7 separate regions of the Homo sapiens genome follow, and all the other regions are linked to region 2. The links are contacts of gene promoters, found by promoter capture Hi-C in blood cells and fetal thymus (Javierre and others, 2016). All regions are on one chromosome and are shown on one strand. Each heading gives the region's core, a stretch centred on a gene start or on the middle of the fragment in contact. The rest is flanking DNA. Distances are from core to core; before and after follow the strand shown.

Evidence for each region. Contacts are between HindIII fragments. The CHiCAGO score rates a contact against its expected background, and 5 or more counts as called.
Region 1: a contact is called between a fragment that was not itself captured here and the fragment with the promoter of REV3L in region 2, in 2 of 17 cell types (naive CD8 T cells and non-activated CD4 T cells). The highest score is 6.2, in naive CD8 T cells.
Region 3: a contact is called between a fragment that was not itself captured here and the fragment with the promoter of REV3L in region 2, in 1 of 17 cell types (activated CD4 T cells). The highest score is 5.6, in activated CD4 T cells.
Region 4: a fragment that was not itself captured here is called in contact with the fragment with the promoter of REV3L in region 2 in 10 of 17 cell types (activated CD4 T cells, naive CD8 T cells, total CD4 T cells and 7 more); the score reaches 13.6 in activated CD4 T cells.
Region 5: the fragment with the promoter of CCN6 here is called in contact with the fragment with the promoter of REV3L in region 2 in 1 of 17 cell types (naive CD4 T cells); the score reaches 6.1 in naive CD4 T cells.
Region 6: a fragment that was not itself captured here is called in contact with the fragment with the promoter of REV3L in region 2 in 3 of 17 cell types (activated CD4 T cells, non-activated CD4 T cells and total CD8 T cells); the score reaches 6.6 in activated CD4 T cells.
Region 7: a contact is called between a fragment that was not itself captured here and the fragment with the promoter of REV3L in region 2, in 4 of 17 cell types (activated CD4 T cells, non-activated CD4 T cells, total CD4 T cells and 1 more). The highest score is 9.6, in activated CD4 T cells.

What each region holds. Positions count from the first base shown.
Region 1 is chr6:112,071,579-112,075,226 of GRCh38, reverse strand. It overlaps TUBE1 (tubulin epsilon 1), which reads left to right. Exons shown (of 12, transcript NM_016262.5): 9 at 377-517; 10 at 2,329-2,469; 11 at 3,151-3,325. Among named protein-coding and RNA genes, the nearest start is that of TUBE1, 14 kb to the left of the region's middle. The HindIII fragment of the contact is 6,092 bases long and covers 1-3,648 here.
Region 2 is chr6:111,481,401-111,484,728 of GRCh38, reverse strand. It overlaps REV3L (REV3 like, DNA directed polymerase zeta catalytic subunit), which reads left to right and starts at 1,511. Exons shown (of 32, transcript NM_001372078.1): 1 at 1,511-1,979. The coding sequence starts at 1,841. It also overlaps TRAF3IP2-AS1. RefSeq lists enhancers at 365-724, 2,565-2,624 and silencers at 795-1,184, 1,225-1,454, 1,625-1,924, 1,985-2,054, 2,115-2,194. The HindIII fragment of the contact is 6,397 bases long and covers 1-3,328 here.
Region 3 is chr6:112,163,623-112,167,114 of GRCh38, reverse strand. LAMA4 (laminin subunit alpha 4) reads left to right here. Exons shown (of 39, transcript NM_001105206.3): 13 at 1,839-1,955. Among named protein-coding and RNA genes, the nearest start is that of LAMA4-AS1, 71 kb to the left of the region's middle. RefSeq lists an enhancer at 3,474-3,492. The HindIII fragment of the contact is 1,697 bases long and covers 960-2,656 here.
Region 4 is chr6:112,035,082-112,038,483 of GRCh38, reverse strand. No RefSeq gene overlaps it. Among named protein-coding and RNA genes, the nearest start is that of CCN6, 17 kb to the left of the region's middle. The HindIII fragment of the contact is 5,703 bases long and covers 1-3,402 here.
Region 5 is chr6:112,052,067-112,055,500 of GRCh38, reverse strand. CCN6 (cellular communication network factor 6) reads right to left here and starts at 1,397. Exons shown (of 5, transcript NM_198239.2): 1 at 1,096-1,397. The coding sequence starts at 1,143. The HindIII fragment of the contact is 6,629 bases long and covers 1-3,126 here.
Region 6 is chr6:112,093,664-112,097,144 of GRCh38, reverse strand. FAM229B (family with sequence similarity 229 member B) reads right to left here. Exons shown (of 4, transcript NM_001033564.3): 2 at 1-104. Among named protein-coding and RNA genes, the nearest start is that of FAM229B, 7.8 kb to the right of the region's middle. The HindIII fragment of the contact is 2,839 bases long and covers 178-3,016 here.
Region 7 is chr6:111,994,551-111,997,884 of GRCh38, reverse strand. No RefSeq gene overlaps it. Among named protein-coding and RNA genes, the nearest start is that of CCN6, 58 kb to the left of the region's middle. The HindIII fragment of the contact is 4,369 bases long and covers 1-3,334 here.

The DNA of each region.
Region 1 (3,648 bases), core at 216-2,715, 590 kb before region 2:
TACAAAAATTAGCCAGGCAAGGTGTTGTATGCCTACTGTAGTCTCAGCTGCTCAGGAGGCTGAGATGGGAGGCGGCGGTTGCAGTGAGCTGAGATCACACCACTACACTCCAGCCTGGGCAACCAGAGCGAGACCCTGTCTCAAAAAAAAAAAAAAAAGAAAGAAAAAAAAAATGTAGATGTTGTGTGTTATATTTTATTTTATACATGATTGTTCTGATACTAACTTTCACTAATATGGAAGAAAAGCATGTGTTCTGCACTGAAGAACAGTGTACAAAAGAATTTAAGAAACTACCTGCTGAATAAATCGAGCTACATTTAAAGTGTATAATTTTAAAATTAAAAATTTTCTCATTTTAATGTTAACTTTTTAGCTCTGCAAGATTTGAAGGGTCCCTTAATATGGACCTTAATGAAATCAGCATGAATTTAGTTCCTTTTCCTCAACTTCATTATCTCGTGTCAAGCCTAACACCTCTGTATACACTGACAGATGTTAACATTCCTCCTAGAAGGTAAGGTGTAACTTTGTTTCAATTTTTTGAGGCCTCAAATTACTTTAAAAAACATTTTTAAGAGAAAAAAGTTTGCAATAACTCTAGTTATTTAATTGTATCATCTTATCTGTGAGAGTTGATGACATCCATTTTTGCATTAGATGAATGCATCTTTATTTAGAAGTAATTGTTGAAAAATGCCAGTATTAAACTATTTGAACTTAAATCTAATGATTAAATTTGTAGGCTTATGAAAAGTCCTTTGAAGTCTGACAAACACATTTGAATCCTAACTGTCGCTAGCTACAGGACTTTGGGCAAGTGACTTAAACTTTCTTAGTTTTTCTCATCTGTAAAAATGAAATAGTACCTACCTCATATACTTATTGGGTAGATTAAATGAGAGTTTGTTTTAAAGCTACTGTCACAGCCCAGTACCATAGAAGAATTTCAGATGTAACTCTGTATGTTTTCCAGAACACCTTGCTTTATAACTGTGTGTCATTGTTAAGCATAAAGATTACATCAGTATACTTAACAAAAAATGTAGTTTTGAAAGATACTCTTAGCATGTATACTGATGATGAGCTTGAAAAGTTCACAGTGGCATTCACAGTTGACTGAGGGAAAAAGTCCTGCCAAACTCTGTAAGGAGACAGTATGTAAATAAGAAAGGGAAAACTAAATTGGCTGAGTGCAGTGGCTCACACCTGTAATTCCAACACTTTGAAAGGATGAGATGGGAGGATCACTTGAGCCCAGGAGTTCAAGACCAGCCGGGGCAACATAGTGTGAGACCCTGTCTGCACTTGTAGTCCCAGCTACTCTGGAGACTGAAGTGGGAGGATCACTTGAACCCAGGAGTTTGAGGCTGCATTGAGCTATAATTTTGATCCTGCACTCCAGCTTGGGCAACAAAGGAAGACAGACCCTGTCTCTAAAACAGATTGAAAATAATTTTTTAAAAGTTTTTAAAGAAAACTAAAGATTCTTTTTTATAACTAAAGTTTTGACAAGATAATTCTATACTTCAGGAATGTCACAAGTGATATTGGTAAGTTTTCATCTAAGCCAACAGCAAATGACCACTTTGCCAACTAATAGATAGGACTCCGTTTCTGCATGGGATGCTGATGACCTTAACAAGCTAAGCAACATACACAGTGTATGCAACATGGTGATTATTAAATGTCCATTGGCATCAGCCTAGCATTGGAGTCTGTGTATTGTTAGATATAAACTTTGTCAGTCACCTTTATTTTCTTTTGTCTTTTATCCTTCAGTTAAAAGACTTAGGTTAAAAGTCTCTACTTTTAGGAGAACTACTATGGAGTTTCATCTTTTATAGGAGAGCTTCACATTGTCCTTTGATAATTTCCTCCTGTTAACAAAATTTATGATATAATATACTTTACAAAGTAATAGTCTTAATGTTCTAGGCTTTTAATTAGTTTTAGTAGTTTGGATACTATGAAATAAATAAGGTATACCGAACTAAGTAATAATAATACAAGTTTCAAAAATCAGTACTACATAGAGTTCATAATGCTACAGTCAACATTTTGTAGCTACCTGAAATCACCCATATACTGCAGAAGCCTTTTCCCCCAGAAAAAGAAAATATTATATGATTTCTTCTCTTCTCATATCATTAAGATTGCTTCAAGAAAAGTATAGTTATTTAATATTTTTAGAATATATATAATCTAATATTTTGTTAGTGTAATATTTAGTGTGGTTTCTTACTTATAGAGGACTATCTTCATTTTATAGTTATACATAGAAAGAAGTAATATTTTGTATAAACAATGACAATTTCATTGTTGCAGATTGGATCAGATGTTTTCAGATGCCTTTAGTAAAGATCACCAGCTGCTTCGGGCAGACCCCAAACACAGTCTTTACCTCGCCTGTGCACTCATGGTTAGAGGAAATGTACAAATTTCAGATCTTCGTAGAAATATTGAAAGGTTTGGTTTATATTTTTAAAGATAATTTGTGTGTGCTGCTTGGGACAGTGTGGCATAGTAGTTAGTTAACAGCCGCCCTTCAAATTCTAGCAGTGCCACTTACTAAAGTGTGACTGTGAACAAACTACTTAGTCTCTTTGTGCCTTGTTTTCTTCAAGTGTAAAATAAGGATAATAATAGTACATGGTTTTTATTTAGGAGTCTTAAATGATATATGACATGTTTTATTTTATGAAAGTGTTCAGAAAATCGTAGCTATACTATTTTTATTACCACTGCCACCAGTACTACTATAGTAGTACTACTACTACTTCTGATTTTTGTGTTACTATTTCATTCTATTTGTAAGAAAACTAGTCTGTTGAATTACAAAGTAAGGAAAATGGTAGTACCTTCATTTCTTTATATCCCTAGATTTCTACTCTTAAGGAATGAGTTTCTAGCTTCTTGAATCACAACACAGCCAATTTAATGTTCCCCTACAAAATGTCTCTTAGTTCACTATCAGACTGTACCATGTTACTGCCAATAGTAAAAAATAGATAACTTAGCGTCTAAACTAAGCAAGTAGATTGATACCATCCATAATGTTCTGGTTTAACTAATATGAGCTGCCATTATATGGCAGACATTTTTAGTACCTTAGTTCTCACCTTCTGAGATTTTTTTTTTTAATCTCAGATTAAAACCATCTCTACAATTTGTCTCCTGGAATCAAGAAGGCTGGAAGACCAGCCTGTGTTCCGTACCTCCTGTGGGCCATTCTCATTCGTTATTAGCTTTAGCAAATAACACATGTGTGAAGCCCACCTTCATGGAACTGAAAGAGAGATTCATGAGGCTCTACAAGAAAAAGGTAATTATTGTACAGCTTTGTAACTGTATGTGTTTATTTTGGCTATTTAAGATGTATTCTTAAAAATTACACTATTACAAATCAGGGGTGATGTTTTCTATTATGTGCGTTGTACTGATTATAACTGAAGAGGAGAGGCTTACTCATGCTACTTTTACTCTAAATGAGAAAATTCATGAGTTTATAGGATTCATTCAATTTGACACAAGTTCTCTTTCAAATGTAGAGCTGAATGAACTCTAATTTTAATAAGGAATATTTACCTTTTAGGATAGTCTTATGTATTAAAGTTCCTGAAATGGTAAACGTTACCTAATTTTTTA
Region 2 (3,328 bases), core at 262-2,761:
ATGTAAAAGAACGATCTCTACTTGGATGGGTTAGAAATGTGTCAAGGGTCCTAATTCAGGGGCAAATTTCGAACTTGAACCCACGCTTTCTGCCTCCTACAGCTTGCATCTTTTTGTTGAGAAGAAACCCTTCAGGATTAGTTTTTAAGAGAAACCTTCCCGTTTTACATATGTAGAAACTGAGCCCAAAGAAACAAAATTATTTGTCCAAGGTCACGCCCAATATCAGTGGCCAAGTCAGAGAGGAACCCCTTGTTTCCAATTTAATAGCCAAGCCAGCTGCATGTTACTACTCTTTAAAACAAAAATTCCCTAACTGCATCGCTTCACCCCCTCTCGATTTTTGAATAAAGTTGTTTATTCAAAACGGCCCTTCCCCACGGTGGTGCTTTTATGCCTTCGGGTAGTAAAACCTTCCATAACGTGTTAGTGAAAAACACGAGGAGGCCACGTCTAACGCGGTGACTTTCACAGGCCTTTTTCTTTGGCCAAAATTTTCTCGGAAAGACTGTTAATCCTACATTCCGCTGGGGGAGGAGCGACGAGGGAGGAGGGAGGTCACCGGCAGCTGACAAGTCCTTACATGTACTTGCGCGTGCCCGGGACGCAGCCTGCGGGGCCGAGGAAACCAACGAAGGATGTATTAGGACGAGAGGGAAGGAAGGGGGCGGGAGAAAAACACGGTAGTGGGAAATCCCTGTGCACTGGATCTGCCAACCCCTCGCAAAGCTGAGAAGAGCCGTGCGTGAATAAATCTCATTAAATGGCCCGGCGCAGACACTGCAGCAGCAAAGAGGAGGGGGCACCGCGGCTCGCGCGGCACGTTCGGGAAGGGGGAACGCCAGGGCGGCCCTTTTATAGGCCGAAGCCCGCGCCCGCGCGCCCCCACCCTTCGCACCGCCCCCGGGCCACGCGCGGAGCCGCGGCGTTACCTGAGAAGGGCCGGCTGCGTCCGCACCCGGCCCCGCCCGTTCCGCCGCCCGCCCGCCCTTCCCTCCCGCGAGGCCGCAGCGGCACGAGATCTGCGCCTCGCCTCCCTCCTCACGCGGGCGGATTTTCTTACCTTGTGAAAAACCGTCTCAGCGGCTGCCCCCGCCTCCTCTGCTGGATGTGAAATGGCGGTCGGCGAGGCAAGTGTGAGCATCGCAGCTCCTGCCAATCCTGCATAGCCGCCAAAACGGCCCCGAACACTGGCGCCCCCCTCCCGCAAGCCCCTCGGAGCCCATCCATGAGATCGGTGCTCCGCCGCCCCTTCCGCTGCCCCTCACCCAGGTGACCGTGCCCGCCAGCCGAGTCATCGATCCCGCGCGGGCGCTGCCGGCCGCCGGCCGCCTCCCTCGCCGCGTGCCCGGGGAGGGGGAGAAAGCCCCTTCTCGGCCCCCGCCCTCCGTGTCCCGCCCGGGCGCCCGCCCTCTCGCTCCTTTTCCCGCCGAGCCCCCTCCCCCGCACTACTCGCAGCCTCCCTTCGCCACACACACCCCCCTCTCCCCTCCCCCCAGTGGTTGCGTCCGTGACATCATCATCATGGCAACAAGAGCTGCAGCCTGGGACCGAGGAGCCCGTGTGATTCCCGGCGGTGGCGGCAGTGGCGGCAGCACCAGCACCGACGAAAGCTCGAGGGCTTCTCTCCTGCGGCCCCTTGCCGGGTGCTCCTGAGGAGGCGGCGGCAGCAGCGCCTACACCGCCCCGCCCGCCGCTCCTCGAGGTGCCTCTGTGTGAGGGGAGGGGGCCGTGCCGAGAAGGGGAGGGGGCGCCGCCGCCGCTGCGGAGGGAGCCGCCGCCGCTGCTGCTGCCGCTGCCGGGTCGCCAGTGAAGGGAGGCAGTGGCGGCGGCGGCGAACATGTTTTCAGTAAGGATAGTGACTGCAGACTACTACATGGCCAGCCCGCTGCAGGGGCTGGATACCTGCCAATCCCCCCTCACCCAGGCCCCTGTCAAGAAGGTGCCGGTGGTGCGAGTCTTCGGAGCGACCCCGGCAGGTAAGCGGGCGCCGGGCGCGGGGCGGGAGCGGGAGTCGGCGGGGCGCCGGGGCCGCCCTCCCCGCCGCGCACACGCGCACACGCCACCGGCGCCGGCCGTCTCCGTGGATCGCTGCCGCGTCTTCCCTCCCCTCCGCCCTCCTCGCCTTTTCTCTCGTGCGTGACAAGAGCCGCAAAAATGTGGGTCCGCGCGAGCGCTGCGCGGCGCCCCCACCCCCGGGCAGGGAGGTGGCGAGCGCCGCGTGTTTAGACTGCGTGTGGCGGCCGGGAGCGGGAGCCGCACTCCAGGGCGCGGGCCGGGAGAGCGAAAGCCGCGGGCGCCCCGGACGGCGGGCCAGGTGGCCGCGCCATGTCCATCGGTGGACGGGTTCGTAGGGCCTGCTCTGAGGTCGGTCGCTAGTGGGACATCCCTTGTGTCCCCCAAGTGCCGCTTTCTGGAAACGGGGAAGTGTCAGCCTTGTTGTCAGTCGCTCCCCATGGTCTCTTCTCACCCTCGCTCTCCTCTGCCAGTTCCGGAGATGCAGTGGGCCGGAGAGAGTGGCGCTTGGGGCCAGATAATCTTTCTCACTGGGGTGACCGTGTGGCTCTGCTGTGAGTGCAGGTCGTGACTCCTTAGAGTTTAGTGCCTGAGCGTCGGGGGACAGGGCAGCATCCTTAGGTGCAGTGCTTTCAGGAAATGTGCATCCATGGAAGTAGGAAATGCGTGTTTATGTTGCCCAACCTAAAACATCACACTTAATGGGGTGAATTTATTAGGAACCACAGCCAGACTCAGCAGCACAGACATTTTGAAATGCTCCTAGGCTGGGCTGTAGGATTGCGTTTTAAGTACAGGTATATATTTTTTAAACACAACTATGTTGAAGAAGGGATGGGAAGGGGAGACAGCCGTGACAGAAGGTACGTTCTCAAAAACTCCTGGGGCTTATGATAATATAAAAAAGATAGAGGCCCAGTTTACTAGGTGTTTTAAAATGGTTTTGCTTTTTTGCATGCTTTGAACTGCTTCCATGAAATAATGGAGTTCTAGGAAATAATGCATCTTAGGAAAGGTTGTTCTTCCCTCTAGCTATGAATTGCCCTATGGGATTTTAGATAGCATTTCCCACTTGATGCTCCTTGCCCTCATCACCATTCATCTTATTACTACAGTCAGTTTCTGTGGACTACCAAGATAATAGCGCTTTCCCAAACACAAGCACTCATTTTAAAGCAGTTATCTTTTAATGTGAATTCTCTTTGTTAAAATGTCAATGTTGTGAGATTTGGTAGCATATTCCTATTTAAACTAGTGAATATGATTTTGATATGAACCTTGAAAGATGGGGAATTTGAGTGCTTTTAACGTG
Region 3 (3,492 bases), core at 559-3,058, 680 kb before region 2:
AGCCATACAACTAGCAATTACATTATTTTGTCATCTTACCTCTATCTCCAAAGGGTAACAGAATGATTAAAAACTTATCAGATGAACATGAGATTGTATAGTTTAAAAGTAAGTAAAATACTCCTTCAAAAGCACTGTTTAGGGATTACTATATACCCAAGCTTTACCTTCCCAGGACTGTTTTTTGTTGTTTTTGTTGCTGTTGCTGTTGCTGTTGTTGTTGTTGACCGTGGAACTTTTTCTATTTTTTTGCATATGTAATATGCACAGTGAAGCATGCTGAATAGTGACAATTGTGTCATTTTCATAATTATCAGTTTTCAACATTTTACTTTGTTCAAGTTGACCACTTTTCTGTGGAAATATCTTTATTTGTTTCAAAGCTAATTTTATTCATTTCTGTCTAATGCTATATACGGTAAGTGGGAGAAACTCATTAACTTGAAGCATATTGTTTTTCATCTACTGCAAATAAGCTTATATACAGTGCTATTAGCACACAGCTTTGAAGTTTGTCTCTGACTTCAGGGTGTTAGCAGTGTTCTCCCGCAGTCACCCAGAGAGAACTTACAGAAGGGGTAAAGAACACTGTAAAAGGAAAACAGTTCTGTGAGAGGTAAATAATACCAACCTTTTTTCAACTCCCTTCTTTTACATATTTTAATACACATATTTTACAGTATTGCTTTTGCTGTATAACTCCCAGTCTTTGTAAAGATAAGAATAATTGATCTCAGATAGTCACACTGTATTAGGCTTGATGGATATTCAGGGAAAATTGTTTCTTTAAAAATGTTCTTGCATTAAGAGGATGTTCAAATGTGATTCTTTTCTGTCTCTAGACCTACACCTACCCCATAACAACATATCTGGAGAAGATGGGTTCCATTCTTCCTTTTCTTTAAGCCAGAAAAGACTGCAGGGAGTAAGAAAGGACATTAAGATGAACTTAAAAAGCTTTAAAGTATTTCCTTCTCTATCTAGGCTTCTATAATTATTTCTATGATATTCTAGATTACACTATAATGTATATTTCAACTCTGACTTGTTACTATTTCTAAGGTAACTTCAACTCATTTTTCACTCAAATTGTAAAATGAGTCTTTTACTTTTCCCTCCTAAAGTTTCTTTCTATGTTTCTTTCAAACTCTAAACTCATTGGAAGCCCCATAATATTTCTTCAGAATCACAATGTCCCTGCCTCTAGAACCTAAAAGTGATGGTAGAAATTAAAGTACTCATCAAGACATGTATTAGTATTTACTTTCCCTTCTCAAAACATCTGAGCATTTACAATAAAGAGCTCTGAGAGGTATGAAGCAAGATTAAAATTTGATGCTTTAATAGTAGGGCCATTTTTAATTTTTAAAAGGACATAATAAGATTATTTTTGTATATTCTCTGTTCCTGTCCAAATGGGCTGTTTGTGTCAGGCCCAAGGCTGGCACATGATAAATACTTTTTGAATTAATTCATATTCCAATCACTGCAAATATAGAGCCTGTGTTCAATCCTTTCTCCATAGTCCTCTTTTATATTCTGGGAAAAAGAGACAAATGCCCTCTCTAAGGCGCTAGCTCTCTTTGAAATGACGGTGTTATAATAATCCTCCGTATGTCTAATCTCCCAAGATTCTTACTGTTGTTATCTCTGTATTATAAATGAGAAAGCAGCATCAAACAGGTAGCATTCCCCAAAGGCACACAGCAAGGATGGAGCTGGGATATGAACCCAGATTTGTCTGAGTCCAAAGAGAGCAAGTTGACATTTACTGCTCTCCCCAACGCTTTCCCTAAAGACATATTCACTTCACTCTCCCTTACTCTTCCTTCCCGCAGAAACAACAGGAAAGAGTGAGGGAACAAATGGAAGTGGTGAACATGTCTCTGAGCACATCTGCGGACTCTCTGACAACACCTCGTCTAACTCTTTCAGAACTTGATGATATAATAAAGGTAAGGACGCACGTGACTTGTTCAGGTTTGTATTTCCAGCAGGTTACAACAGCAGCTCAGTGTCACAGAATAATAATAAATTCATATCTAACCAGTGAGCAGGCATTATAAAGATCAGATGACTGAATGTTTTAGTTTCTTGCACTGTACGATGACCACCAGCCACATATGACTACTTAAATTTAAATTACTTAAAATTAAATAAAATTAAAATTTTAATTCTTCAGTCACATTAGCCACTTTTCAAGTCCTCAGCAGCCACATAGCTAGCAGCTACTATATTCAGTGGCACAAGCATTGTGCAGAAACAGGCATTGCGCCACTGAATATAGTGGAACTTCTTGCAGAGAGTTCTATTGAAAATGCTGCTCTCGATCCATCCTACTCACTCTTCACTCATAAAGTTGTGTTTGATAAATCTGGCATTCAAAATCAATAAAAGTCACATTTTGTAAAAGTAGAAAATTTCCAATAAAATGCAGTGAACTGAACTATCATGAAATTACTCTTAGTTCATTTTATTACCTTTCGAAAGATATCACTTTAAGGTCATTTGATTGTCCGTTGACTATTTCAGCACCAAACTGTCTTTCTCTCCAAACTGACTCCCATCACTCTCCTTGGTGACAGCAAAATCCATATGGATGAAGTCACCGACTCTCTGACCTCCAGCTCCTTGAACTTGCCCTTTCCAGCAAGCTTATCCTCCAGTCCACCTCTGTTTTCCCACCTATGGCCATACCCAGATCTTGTCCTCAGTAACAGTACCTCCTCCCAAACCCTAGTTTCAAGCACCTCCCTCCCAGAGCACCATCTCCTATCTCACTTATTCTAGAATGCCCACTCCAGTAATTCTCTGGCCACATGGAGACCTCCCTGCCTTTTTTACCGTACCCCTCTCATGTCCTTTCTTCCCTCCTTAAGCAGCTCAAATTATCAAATATAATAATTCTTTCAAAATACCCTTAACTACCATATCTGCCTGTTCCTCTGTTGTACCTACCTGAGATTTCTGACTCATCCCCAGCACCATGGCCATACCAGAGCAGCTGCATGCGACTGGTGGGAACCCACTTCCCATGCTATCAGTTCTGCCTGGTGACTTGGCTTCCTGCTTTCTGAAAAATTAGAAACAAAGAGAAGAGAACTCCCTTCATCCTTCCTCCCCAGATCCGCCGGCCCGCCTGCATCTGTGCCCACACCTCTGCCTCCCCTCCGTTGTAAGCATTCCTTCTCCTGCCCGGCCTTGAAAACAGGTTGCAGGGTTTCACTCCTCAAGTTATGCCCTTTCTTCTGAATCATCCCGTTCTCATTCTTTACTTAATCATTACCATCAGCGTACAAACGTGCTGTACTATCTCCTATCTTTTAAATATCAAAAAGAAAAAAGCCCTGTAAAAAAATCTTTTATAAAGCTTGCATCCCCTCTAACTTCTGCCCTACCATTCTGCTCAGCTTCACAGCAAAATGTCTCGAGTGACTTATCATTGCTGTTTCTACCTCCCAGACTCCCACTGTCCCCTATACTCGGCCGTTT
Region 4 (3,402 bases), core at 617-3,116, 550 kb before region 2:
CAGGCACACAGCAGGCCCTCTGGTTCACAGGCTTCTGGTGAGTGGAGCTGCTTTCCACAGGGCAACTCCAGTCTAGCTCAGGGGTCTCAGCCTGCAACACTCCTGCAGATCACCCAGGCGTCATGCCTGGGATCTGAGTGGGGCGGGAAACTCTGCCTTTCTAACCAGCTCTGGTGGTTCTCAGACCCTACTTGGAGTCGGAGGTTCAAGTGCCAAGGTGAGCAGCACACATGGTTATTTACATAACAATTTCCCAGAGTAATTTCCAGTACAGCAGATACATTCAATAAAGGAAGCCTGGAATAGAGAGGAAAAAAATCCTCTCACACACGAGCATTCCCACTTGCTTGAAGCAGTGGCTCTCAGCTTTGGCTGCAACTAGAATCATGTGGGGAATTTGCAATATCCCAGTGCCCAGGCCCCACCTCAGACCCATGACATCAGCGTCTCCAGGGGTGAGACCCAGGCGTCAGGATGTTTTAAAGCTCCCTGGGTGATTCCGATGTGCAGCCAGGGTTGCGGCTGGCTACCCGAAAGCAACCCTTTCCCATGAGTCACTGGCATTAACTGCCAGCTCTTCCTCCCACTGTTCCTTCAGCTGGCTTCCTGTGCCTGCAATGGTGACATCGCAAGCCTGCGTGTGCCCCCTTAGATTTGGAGGTGCCAGTCATCATCAGCTGGCTTCCTGTGCCTGCAATGGTGACATCGCAAGCCTGCGTGTGCCCCCTTAGATTTGGAGGTGCCAGTCATCAGCCTATTTGACATGGAGTCTATTTCTATGGGCATCTAGGTCTCTGCTATCTGCCGGGACACAACTCCCAAAGTATGTTCCGCACAACACAAATTCCACAGAGATGCTCATAGATGCTATTTAAAACAGGGAATAAATGCATTTTTATTAAAGTAATTTGGGTTAAAGTCAACCAGATTTATTTACTGAGCAACTTCTCCAATCCTTTAACTACCCAGTGCACTCATCCCCAGTAGGAAGATACGACAGGCAACATTTTCCAAACAAATTTGACCATGAAAACTTTTTTTAAAGAAAAAGGAAAATCCCGGAAACAGGCTTTGGAACATATTGCTCTCTCAGGGTATAATTTAAACTTTAAACTTTTTGGATATTCCTTAATATTTATCAATTGACTAGTGTTTTTACAGGTAACTACCTTATGCTCTCTGTGCTGTATTAGTTACTGGGAGATATAATTCACATGAAACAATTAGAAAATAGCTGCACTGAACTGAGTTGCATTTTTAAAACAAAATAACATTTAATTTTTTTAAAATTAAGGAATAAAAGAGAAGGCTACATAAGTCAAAGAGGCCTTTGTGGAGGAAGTGGTACTTTCTTTGAAGACCTTGAAGAATGAGTAGGGTCTACATGTGCAAGAGAGCAGAAGAACAGAAATTTACTTTGAGGAATTGGCATGAGCCAGAACCTAAGAGCAGGAATGAGTGCAATGGGGTATGATATGGGGATAGGGCATGGGGCAAGAGGGACAGTGAGTGGACCAGCCTCAATACAGTATCAATGGGAATACTGAGTGTATGCAATAAAAAATGACCTTATTCATAAGGTGATACCCAGTTTTCCCAATGAGATAATTTTTAAAGAAAAATTTTAGTAGCCAACCTGAATGTGTAAACTGGTAAGGAGGTAGATAAATTAATCAACATCTCCTTGTAATATTTATTAATGTAGCACCCATGCTGTTACAAACTGAATTCTCCAGAAACAGATGCTGAGATGGAGTTTGGAATGTGAAATACTTTTTAGAGATCAATACCTGTCAAAGAAAGAGAAAAGAAGCAGGATTTAGCAGAGGAAGATATTAAACTGTGAAACAAGCCTGACAAAGACGCCACTAACCCTGCAAAGAGCTCTGGAGCAAATGTTGCCTACCAGAGTTACCCTCAGTGAAGCCAAAGTGGCCAGGGCCTTATGTCTTTACCTTGCTTGGTCACCTGATGTGGACTGGCCCAATAGTGAGACCTCGGCCTAGGGAGGCCTAGTAGCTAACCCTGCTGAGGAAGGCCCTGATGGTGTCAATGTGTGGGCAGCAAGGCTTTCCTTGAATGCACATGCTTGTTTACAGTCATATCTTATACAACATACAAACAATACTTTTCTCCATCACATTTTATACATCAGTTTTTGAAACTCTTCTCGTGAATCACCATGATCCCTTAAGGCCATATTTTGAGTCATCTATCACAATTTTACAGAGTACCTCATCTCTACAGTCATCTAAGATATTGGATATATGGCATTACTTCAATCCATGGATGAAGCTGTTATTAAATATTTTATCCAAGCCACGATTTACCAGTTCCACCCCATTAGATTAGCTTTTATAACCTTTTTCCTGTAGTTGCATACTCATGATCTCCACAAAGTACCTTCTTACTGTATTTTTTAAGTAATCTTTCAAAAATAATCACTTTTAAAATCTTAGAAGTAAGATCACACTCCCAGAAGTAATTACTAGTATTTGATGTCTTTTCCTACATTTTTTTTGTTCGAACAGGTAACCTCAATAAGCATCCCAAGCTAGCACTGATTTCAGTCTAAAATGTGATCCCCAAGCAGTGAACTTTTTTTCCAAATAAAGTAGTAGAGAAAATACACACATTACCAGTGCTTTTCAAAAGGCACCCAGCTTTGTAAAGACATATCTAAAGTGACTTTCTATTTGCCAAGAGATGATATTAGGAAAGAAATCTTGATTAATATTTTGGATGTACATGCCAAGTTTGTCCGGGTGACATGAGGCCAGGTCACCGAAGCACTGAAGATAAAGGAGAGTCATTTAGATGGAACATCACTGTGGTTATGAAACAGGAAAGTAGCCTGATAAACATCATCTTAGGAAACTCTGTGCAGCTAAAGACAGTCTTAAGATGTGTTTGGGGAAATACTGTGGAAACAAGTAGTCATCTCATAACTGATATAATTAGAAGTTATAATAGCTTGGACTTTAGGGATGGCACAGGAAAGGAAATGAAAGAAGTTAATGGAAACACATTTCTAAAGAATTAATAACCTTGAAAGCATGTTGGATGATAGAAGCATAGGAAAGTGAAGCGCCAAACAGGACTTTAAGAACCTAAAAGGAATACTTTATTTTTCAATTTGTTTTTATTATTATTATTTTATTTTTATTTTTGAGGCAGAGTCATGCTCTGTCATCCAGACTGGAGTGCAGCTGTGCGATCTTGGCTCACTGCAACCTCCGCCCCCTGGACTCAAACGATTCTCATGCCTCAGCCTCCAGAGTAGCTGGGACTACAGGCACCTGCCACCACACCTGGCTAATTTTTGTATTTTTAGTAGAGTCAGGGTTTCACCAAGTTGGCCAGGCTGATCTCGAACTCCTGGCCTCAGGTGATCTACTCACC
Region 5 (3,434 bases), core at 148-2,647, 570 kb before region 2:
TCATAAAAGCAAAGTTAAGCACAAAATAATCCATTTTTACCGCTCTTTGTGTAACACCTTTCTGTGTTTGTTGTTGTTTATTTTGTACACATCTCTCTGTGTTGGAATACCTGCTGTCTAAGAACATCTAGCTGCTCTCAATCCACAATGACAGGCTTTTTCTCAAGAACAGTGGAATAGGAGGCACACAGACAGGGGAGTGAGCCCCTCCACAGAACAGCAGCAATGACCTGGACCACTGACATTCTTGTCATGATTCTTTTGAAATCGTAAATCTCTCTCTATATGGTATAACAATTTGCAATTCCTTGTTTTCTAAGATGTATCTACTACTTATGGCCCCAATCAACTACTAACTCACAGACACACCCATGTTTCCTAAATCACCAGATTTCAAAAGCTCTGTCTCCTGTCTACCGTGTAAATAAATCAACAATTAAGTCACCTTGTTTTCATCTTCTTATTTAAAAAGACTAAGGCAATGAATTGCTCATAGTAAGTTAAACTTCCCTTTGGTCTGTTGCTTGAAATATTTCCAAGCCTCCATGGACTGCTTCCCTTTCAGGAAGTGAGAAACACATGGACTGAGAAAAGACAAAGTAAGAGAATGTTTTAAAAATGTAAATGTTTATTCCAAAGTGCCCCTTTCAAAGAAGGACAGACTTAACTGGAAAAAGTCGCTGTCAAAATTCGTTTTTCCAGGGGCTCTTTGCACATTTTGCAAACAGCAATGGAAAGTTGAGCCTCCGCCTGGAGCTGGCATGGAGAGACACTGTTTCCCGCACTGTGCCAGGCTGTGCCTTAGGCTCTGCTATAAAAATATATAGGAAAGCGTGGCGCTGTTCAAACATAGCGAAAGGAGGCTTCGGTGCCATTACCTGAAAGGGAGAAATGTTTTACATTTCTTTCATGAAGCTCATGAACGAACACAGAACTTTATTTGGAAAGAAAAATGGCTTCCTATTTCTCATGAAGTAGTTCCACAAGCCATTGATCCTCCCTCTTCCTCCATCTTCGTTTTGTTTAGTTTTGGGCCTGAAGAACTAAGGATGGCCATAGCCTCCGGAAGGGAAAGAGTCGGGGGAGAGGACTTACCTGTGCCAGGCCAGCAAGCAGAAGAGTGGAGAAGAGGAGCCCCTGCATGTCGCTGGGACCGTGGAGCCACCCTGAGGGGTAGAGAAGTCGCCGCTTGTTCATTGCTCCGGGTACACAAAGCTCCCCTGTCTCCTCTGCAAACCCCACGCTCCTCTGCACAAGAACACACACCCTCTACCTCCCACACTACCAACTTTCAGCCTGCACTTTCATTTTTAAGGATCCGTTTTAATACCCTGTTTACTTTCATGGGACTCTTCTAATAACCTGCCTTCGCAGTGAGCGTGTCACAGGTCAGGAATGGGCGAGCACTTTCCTCCCGGGACTCAGGAGGGCAGGGCAAGTAGTGACTGTTCTCTAAGTGACTGTGTTACCTGTTCCTGGAGAGCAGAGCCTGCCCCCGACAACGGGTGGGGTCCCACGTCATTCCCTTCCTTGCCCTCAGCTTCTCCATCTGTGTTTGCCCTGCTCCGGGTCCTCTCTAGGCTGCTTCCTTCTCCAGCTTCACCCTCACGTACAGAGTGCAGGCCTGGCCCCCCCACCAACAGCACCCATCGCAGCCTAGCCCTGGCTTTCCCCCTCCATATTAATGGCAGGCTCTCGAAGGACCCTGACTCCCCCAGCTCAGATTCTCTCGGAGGCACCCACAGTGCCCTGGGCTCACCTTTATCCCAACACCTTTCTCATGCCAGGTGGACTGTGAGTGGAAAAAATACAGATGGAGCAGGGGGCGGACTCCTACAGTACCTGGCCTGAGAGACGCCTCTTTTTGTGGCCACAGTTCCATGACAGATGACAATGAAGTTAACCTCCATTTTTCCGGGCCTAAAATAAAACAATTACACTGGTAGCAATCATTCATTTAATGAATTAAGATTAAAAATAAGCCTGGCCAATATGATGAAATCCCGTCTCTGCTAAAAAAAAAAAAAGACACAAAAATTAGCCAGGTGTGGTGGCAGGCGCCTGTAATCCCAGCTGCTTGGGAGGCTGAGGCAGGAGAATCGCTTGAACCTGGGAGGCGGAGGTTGCAGTGAGCCGAGATCGCACCATTGCACTCCAGCCTGGGGGACAAGAGTGAGAATTATTCTCAAAAAAAAAAAAAAGATTAAAAATAAAATTTTGACAGGTTTGTACTCCTCTTCTTCATACTCACCTCCCTGAAAGGTGTGACCACCAGCGCATCTCCTCCTGTGTCATCATGTGGGACCTTCGCTTCTCCATGTTCTCAGCCTGGGTCTGTGTTCCCATCTTCATTTGCAGCTGCCGTGGTGCTTTGTCCCTCTCAGGTCCCTGAGGCGTCCCACCTGCCTGCCCCCATCCCAAGGCCTATTTCTATTTCCTTTGATCAGTTACCTATCCCTCCTTTTCCTGCTGCCTTACCTATCCTATACCGATTGCTCACCTTTGTTACTGTTCAAGGCAGTCACTACTGTATAAAGACAACATCAAGCCTCGCTTAGGCCTGAGCTGAGGGCCTGGGAAAAACGAGGCTGTCCTCCACCACAGAGAATCTGGTGTCCTTGGAGAACCATGGACACCCTAAAACCTGCAGATCACACAGAGCTTACTAAGGAGTCATTAAACTGTAAGTATATGCACATCAAACAACAAGGAATACCCACTGCAGTTAGGATGCCAACGCCTTATCTTGCCTCCCTAAGAAATAGGACAAAACCAGATAATGGAGTAGTGAAGAAAATGTGTCTGTTTTGGTCCAATCTGATCTTTTTCTTTTCTTTTTTTTTTTTTATTATTATACTTCAAGTTCTAGGGTACATGTGCACAATGTGCAGGTTAGTTACATATGTATACATGTGCCATGTTGGTGTGCTGCACCCATTAACTCGTCCTTTAGCATTAGGCATATCTCCTAATGCTATCCCTCCCCCCTCCCCCCACCCCACAACAGGCCCCGGTGTGTGATGTTCCCCTTCCTGTGTCCCAGTGTTCTCACTGTAGAGAAGTCCTTAAATGACCTGATGGAGCTGAAAACCATGGCACGAGAACTACGTGATGAATGCACAAGCTTCAGTAGCCGATTCGATCAACTGGAAGAAAGGGTATCAGTGATGGAAGATCAAATGAATGAAATGAAGCGAGAAGAGAAGTTTAGAGAAAAAAGAATAAAAAGAAACGAACAAAGCCTCCAAGAAATATGAGACTATGTGAAAAGACCAAATCTACCTCTGATTGGTGTACCTGAAAGTGACGGGGAGAATGGAACCAAGATGGAAAACACTCTTCAGAATATTATCCAGGAGAACTTCCCCAACCAAGCAAGGCAGGCCAACATTCAAATTCAGGAAATACAGAGAACGCCACAAAGATACTCCTCG
Region 6 (3,481 bases), core at 348-2,847, 610 kb before region 2:
CTTTCCACAGAAGGCTGGAATTGCCAAAGGAATGATGATCAAATGTTCCGGTGACACCCGGAAATTATGACATCAGGAGATTCTTTCACATAGTTTCCTACCTGCTAAAGAATCAAACATCTCAATGCATAGCTCCAACAACAAGCTGAGGCTTAGCTAAAAATTTTCTCTAAAGCTTTTTGGAGAGTTTCATTCTTGTTTTTACTGGCTTATTTCCCTACAATATTAGTATTTTCATCCATGAGTGGGGACCTACAGTCTAATCCACCTGTAGTAAATCAGAATTGAGATTCTTCTCATTTTATATCCTGTTTTCCTCATTCCCTTTCTCTCCCAGACCTTCTCTTATAACATCCCAAATAAATCCCATCTGTCTACATCCTCATCTCACTCCAATATCCTCAAACCCAAATTGTACCTTTACAAATTTCTCTATAACTCTTACATGGGATTCTTTACACCCTCTCTCTAATGCCTGGACTAACTTTATTTTTTTTTCCTGTTTCCTCAAGAGAGTCTTCAAATTCCCAAATGGCTGGAATAATTACAATTGTGAAAGGAAGAATACATCTTTTTTGTTGTTGTTGTTGAGACAGAGTCTCGCTCTGTCACCCAGGCTGGAGTGCAGTGGTGCTATCTTGGCTCACTGCAAGCTCTGCCTCACCTGTTCACACCACTCTCCTGCCTCAGCCTCCCAAGTAGCTGGGACTACAGGCACCCGCCACCACACCCGGCTAATTTTTTCTATTTTTAGTAGAGATGGGGTTTCACCGTGTTAGCCAGGATGGTCTCGATCTCCTGACCTCGTGATCCGCCCGCCTCGGCCTCCCAAAGTGCTGGGATTACAGGCGTGAGCCACCGCGCCCGGCCGAAAGGAAGAATACATCTTGTACTGTCCTCATTATTCTGTTCCCTGAGCCCTGGGCTGCTTCTCTGCTCATTTCTCTAACTGCTCTCCCTCTCCCAACTCATTCTTGGCTTCTAGATCAATAGCCCACCTCATGAACTTCTCCTCTACTCAGTAATGTTTAGTTTAACCCTTATACCAGAACATAACTCTTCAGCTAAGCAGTTTTTCAATTTTCATATCCGATGACTAAACTATTAAATGTTAGTGAGCATTTTTACCACTGTTGTGTTTTCATATGACTCAAGTTATAGAAAACTGGCATTTTACATAAGAATTAACTTGATGTTGGATACAATCTTACCTCCACCTTCTTTTTCTTACTAGGGTACTATCTGTGAATAAGTTGATCACCATTTCAGCTTGGAAAAATAACTGACGGTGTCACAGTCACACAAACAAATAATTGCTGGCCATTGTGAGCTAAGGTATCATTAGGACCTAAACATTTGGTCCTTAGGATGGCAAAAAATGTAATAGTTTACATGTTTGAGAGGTGGTAGCAGTGGGGAGAATGATGGGTTTTAGCATCAGAATTAGGTTAGAGGTTTTTTTTTTTCTTTTTTTTTTTTTTTGGTTTTTTTTTTTTTTTTTTTTTTTTTGAGACAGGGTCTTGCTCTGTCATCCAGGCTGGAGTGCAGTGGCATGATCATGGCTGACTGCATGCAGCCTCGACCTCCTGGAATCAAGCAATCCTCCTGCCTCAGCATCTCAAGTAGCTGGGACTACAGGTGCACACCACTATGCCCAGCTAATTTTGTATTTTTTTGTAGATAGAGGGTTTTACCATGCTGCTCAGGCTAGTCTCAAATTCCTGGGCTCAAGTGATCCACCCACCTCACCCTCCCAAAGTGCTAAGGTTACAGGCATGAGCCCACTGTGCCCAGCCAGGTTTGAATTTTGACACAATGTTAGCTCTGAGATTTTAAGCAAATCACTAAAAGTTTGTCTGTAAAATGGTATTAATTCCTACCTTACAGAGTTGTCGTGAGGAATTAAAAACAATCTAACATGTATAAAGCCAATAACTGGGACACAAGAATTCAATCAGCACTACTTCCTACATATTTTTGTGTCATTCTTGAAATCAGAGTATTGAGACACTGATTTCACCTTTTAGTCATGGATATATATGAAGTAAAATATCTGTAAGTGGGGTATTCTTAAAATCCTGTAATTTACCATTTTAACTAGTCCATTTGGCATACCATGCTTCTTTAGAATGGGTGATACAATGAAACAAACCAAACAGTAGTCTTAATGATGAAACTTTACAACATTAGAATGATACCTCAGAAGACAAAAGGAATTTGAGTCTCCAGCATATTTTCATAAAGCAATAGATAAACAAGAGCAATGCAAATGGTGAATAAAAAGATGAAGTATCCAAATACCCCCTTAAGTATCACAAGCTCAAGAGTAATAGTCTTTCAATTCTCAAGATATTAATTCATGAGATGCAGAAAATGAGTGATATTTGAACTTGTCATGTTCTAAGAAAAAAAGACCCATGGACTTCATTCATTCATTCATTTAATGAATATTTGCTGAGAATCCACCATGAGCCAGGCATGTGTTAAGTGTTAAAGATAAAAGATTAAGCAAAAACAAACACAGTTCCTGTTGTGGTAGAGTTTGTAGGTTACGATAGGATTTGTTTTAGTCTAGGATATTTAATCTAAATCTAAGAGATGGGGGGCATTAATTAGGTGGAAATGAGTGGGAGACAAAAACATTGACACAGTTGAGGAGGGGGCAAAGAGGAAAACAGCATGTGGAAAGGTCATGCTAGTAAAGACAATAAAAAATCTGAAAGGCCAGCATAACCACAGCATGGAAAACAGAAAATAAATGGAGTCTGAGACATAAGCACAGGCCAAATCACGCAGGAGCAAAAACTCAAGTTAAAATTTTAGACTTTATCTTATGAACAAGGAAGCCTATCAAATAATTTTAATTTCTCAGGACACATATTTAGGTTTCATTGATTTTTCTCTATTTTCTATTTACTATTTATTTTATTTCCACTCCAATCTTTATTATTTCTTTTCTTCTGTCTACTTTGGGCTTAATTTGCTTTTCTTTTTCTAATTTCTTAAGGTAGAAGCTTAGGTCATTAATTTTAGTGCTTTCTTCTTTTCTAATGTAAACATTTAATTCTATAAATTTCCATCAAAGCACTCCTTTAGCTGCATTCCACAAATTTTTTAATTTTGTATTTTCATTTCCTTCAGTTAAAATTTTTTTGCTTTTTCTTCTTTGACCTATGGGTTATTTACAATTATATTGTTTAATTTTCCAATATTTAGGAATATTCTACTTTTCTGTTACTGATTTCTAATTAGGTTCCATTTTTGTTAGAGAACATTCTTTGTATCACTTGAATCCTTTTAAATTTATTTAGACTTGTTTTTATAGCCAGAATATAAACTGCCTTGGTAAATGTTTCACACATACTTGAATGTATATGCTGCTATAGTTGGCTTCAGTGTTCTATATAAGTATTTTCCAATATTTAGGAATATTCTACTTTTCTGTTACTGATTTCTAATTAGGTTCCATTTTTGTCAGAGA
Region 7 (3,334 bases), core at 539-3,038, 510 kb before region 2:
GAGCTGATTGCTGCTCTGTGAACGCACCAAGGTCAGGGGAAGGAAATCTTCAATAGTCGACAGCCTCAGGTAGAAATGGAGAGCTGGCCACCTCTAGGGAGCGGCTGTCAGTGAAGAAGGGTGAGCGGGAACCCCTGACCTCCTCACAGCGCCCGGAGACATTGCTCTTCTCTCCTACTCTCCTGTCCGCTATTTCAACCACACACACACACACACACACACACCCTGCAGTAAAAGAGTTGATGCTTTCCTATGGGAACTCTCTGGTTGAAATCCTAAAGGCAAGTGAAAGGGCTTTTTAAAACCAATCCCAATGATCCGTTTGAGGGAAAAGAAATAAGGCAATGTTTGGAATAGCATCTCCAGCACTGATGGGAGTAAGTGGTACCAATGAAGTGAAATCCTCAGCTGTCAGTCCTGGGCTTCTCTACCAGGGGAAACAATGAGAAATGTTTTTTGTTACCTCGCCTTTGTTCGTTGGAAATTTGATCAGAATTCCCATGTCTGCTATTTTCCTTCTGTACGCTTAACCAAATGCAAAGTCTCAGGCTCACGCTAGAGGTCGCTGTTGATCACATCCGAACCTCACCTCCCAACGCAGGCAGGAGAGGCAGGCTCACCGCCGCACGTCTTCACTGCAGTGGGAACAGCCTGCAGGCTTTGGTGGCAGGAAGATCAGTTTGGCCACACCCGGTTCAGGTACAGCGCATCGGCCTGCGAGGACGTTGCTTTTTATTTCACAGACAAAAGTATAAAACGAGGATAAAGCAGATAATTAAAGGTGCTTCAAATTAATTTGAATTTTTTTAAGTACTGCATAATTTATGACGTTTCAACACTTCCCTTCCCCTCCCTGTCTGACCCCCCAACCATATCACTTCTTCCCCCACTTCCATTAAGCAGTTTGAGGAGTGTACAATATGAAGGACTTGAATAAAAGCCCAGGCTTAAATATGGACCATACCTGCAGTTAGCCGCTATCACTGACACCACTGGGCTTGTATCCTTCCCAGCTGGTTCTACGCCCAGAATATAAAACAGCTAAGAAATAAAATGACAAGACAACAGGGCCGATAACATTGTAAGCAATTACAGCCTCTCTTGATGCTGAGAATCCTAAAGACGCCACCCAAAAAGCAGTATTCTAATCGAAGGCCATTATTAATGAACCAGATCTCTGCTTGGCTGACTCCTATTCTTCCTCTCCTAATTATATTCATCTGCTCCTTCTTTGGTCCTAACTTTGGAAATTGCTTTCAGCACAGACCAATCCCAAAGGCGAGCTGGAAGCCAGAGCTGAAATAAAAGTCGGCGGTATTATCATTTTGAGGCAAGTCACGAAGTATTTATTGTTTGCTGCATTTCCACTTCTGCCCTTGACTCTAGACCCAAAGTAGAATTGCAGTGGTGATGCAGTGACATCATACACGCAGACACCGGTGCAAAGCAGTGTCTCATTCAACATTAAGATTGTGGCACTGACGGCAAGGCTTAGAAAAATTCCCAAAAGATAGGGTCCAGAGCACTGGTGTCAACTAAAAAAGGTTTATTGGTAAAGAGTGTGGCTTTGACAACCCCCGACATGGGAAGAGAGCAGAGGCTGCAACAGCCTAGCAGGGGCCAGGATGCAGCCACGACCGTGGCTTCTGTGAGGAGGCTTATTACATGAAAGCAGCCGAGAACTTATTACGAGAGGCAGCCTACACTTGGGTCCCAGGCGGAGGTGCTGTCACTGAGTAGGATGAGAGGAAAGGAACCTCTAACAGTGTTATAGCAGGAGGGACATGGCATAGGTGTAGTTTAGAGGGAAGGAATCTGACTGTACATATTTATTTATTTATTTATTTAGAAGGAGTCTCTCTCTCTTGCCCAGGGTGGAGGGCAGTGGTGCGATCTCAGCTCACTGCAACCTTTGCCTCCCAGGTGCAAACTTTGCCTCCCAGATTCAACCTGGGAGGTACAACCTCAGCCTCCCAAGTAGCTGGGATTACAGGCACCCACCACCGTGCCTGGCCTAACTTTTGTATTTTTAATAGAGGGGTGTTTCACCATGTTGCCCAGGCTGGTCTTGAATTGCCGACCTCAGGTGATCCACCTGCCCCAGCCTCCCAAAGTGCTGGGATTACCGGCGTGACCCACTGTGCCCAGCCCACCTTTTTAATATTGTGGTAAAATATACTGCTATGTTCTGAATGTTTGTGCTTCCCCCAGATTCATATGTTGAAACCTGATCCTCCAATGTGATGGCATTAATTTGGGGAGGTGACTCAGTCATGAGGGCAGAGCCTTCATGAATGGGATTAGTGCCCATATAAAAGAAGCCAGAGGGAGCTTGTTGTCCTTCTGCCATGTGAGGACACATAAAAGGCATTGTTTATGAGGAATAGGCCCTCATCAGACACCAGATCTGTAGGTGCCTTGATCCTGGACTTCCCAGCCCCTAGAACTGAGGCTGTTCTGAGAGCAATAAATTTCTATCATTTATAAAATGCCCATTCTAAGGTATTTTGTTATAGCAGCCCAAACTAAGACATATATATATATATATACACACACACATATATATATTATAAAATTTACTATTTTCATCATTTTTAAGTGTACAATTCAGTGGCATTAAGTAGATTCACAATGTTGTGCAACCATCACCACCACCCATCTTCAGAACTTTTTTATTATCCCAGACTGGAACTCTGTAGCCGTTAAGCACTAATTCCCCATTTTCCCCTCTTCTCACTTCTTGGCAACCACCAGTCTGCTTTCTGTCTCTGTGAGTTTGACTATTCTACGTACCTCATAAAAGCGGAGTCATACAATATTTGTCCTTCGGTGTCTGATTTATTTCACTTAGCATCATGTTTTCAAGGTTCATTCATGTTGTGGCATGTCAGAACTTCATTCCTTCTTAAGGCTGAGTGATAGCCCATTGTCTGTATATACTACATTTTGTTTATCCATTCATCTGTCAGTGGCCATTTAGGTTGTTTCCACGTTTTGCATAGTGTGAATAATGCTGCTGTACATACTGGTGTGCAAGTATTTGAGTTCCCGATTTCAGTTCTTTGGGGTATATGCCTAGGAGTGGAATTGCTGGATCGATAGGGTAATTCTGTGTTTCACTTGTTGAGGAACTACCCAACTGTCTTCCACAGTAGCCACATCATTTTACGTTCCCATCAGCAAAGCACAAACGTCCCAATTTCTCCACGTCCTTGACCACACTTGTTATTCTCCTTTTGTGTGTGTGTGATAATAGCATTTTAATGGATATGATATGGCATCTCATTGTGGGTTTGATTTGCATTTCCCTAATGACTAGAGATATTGAACATCT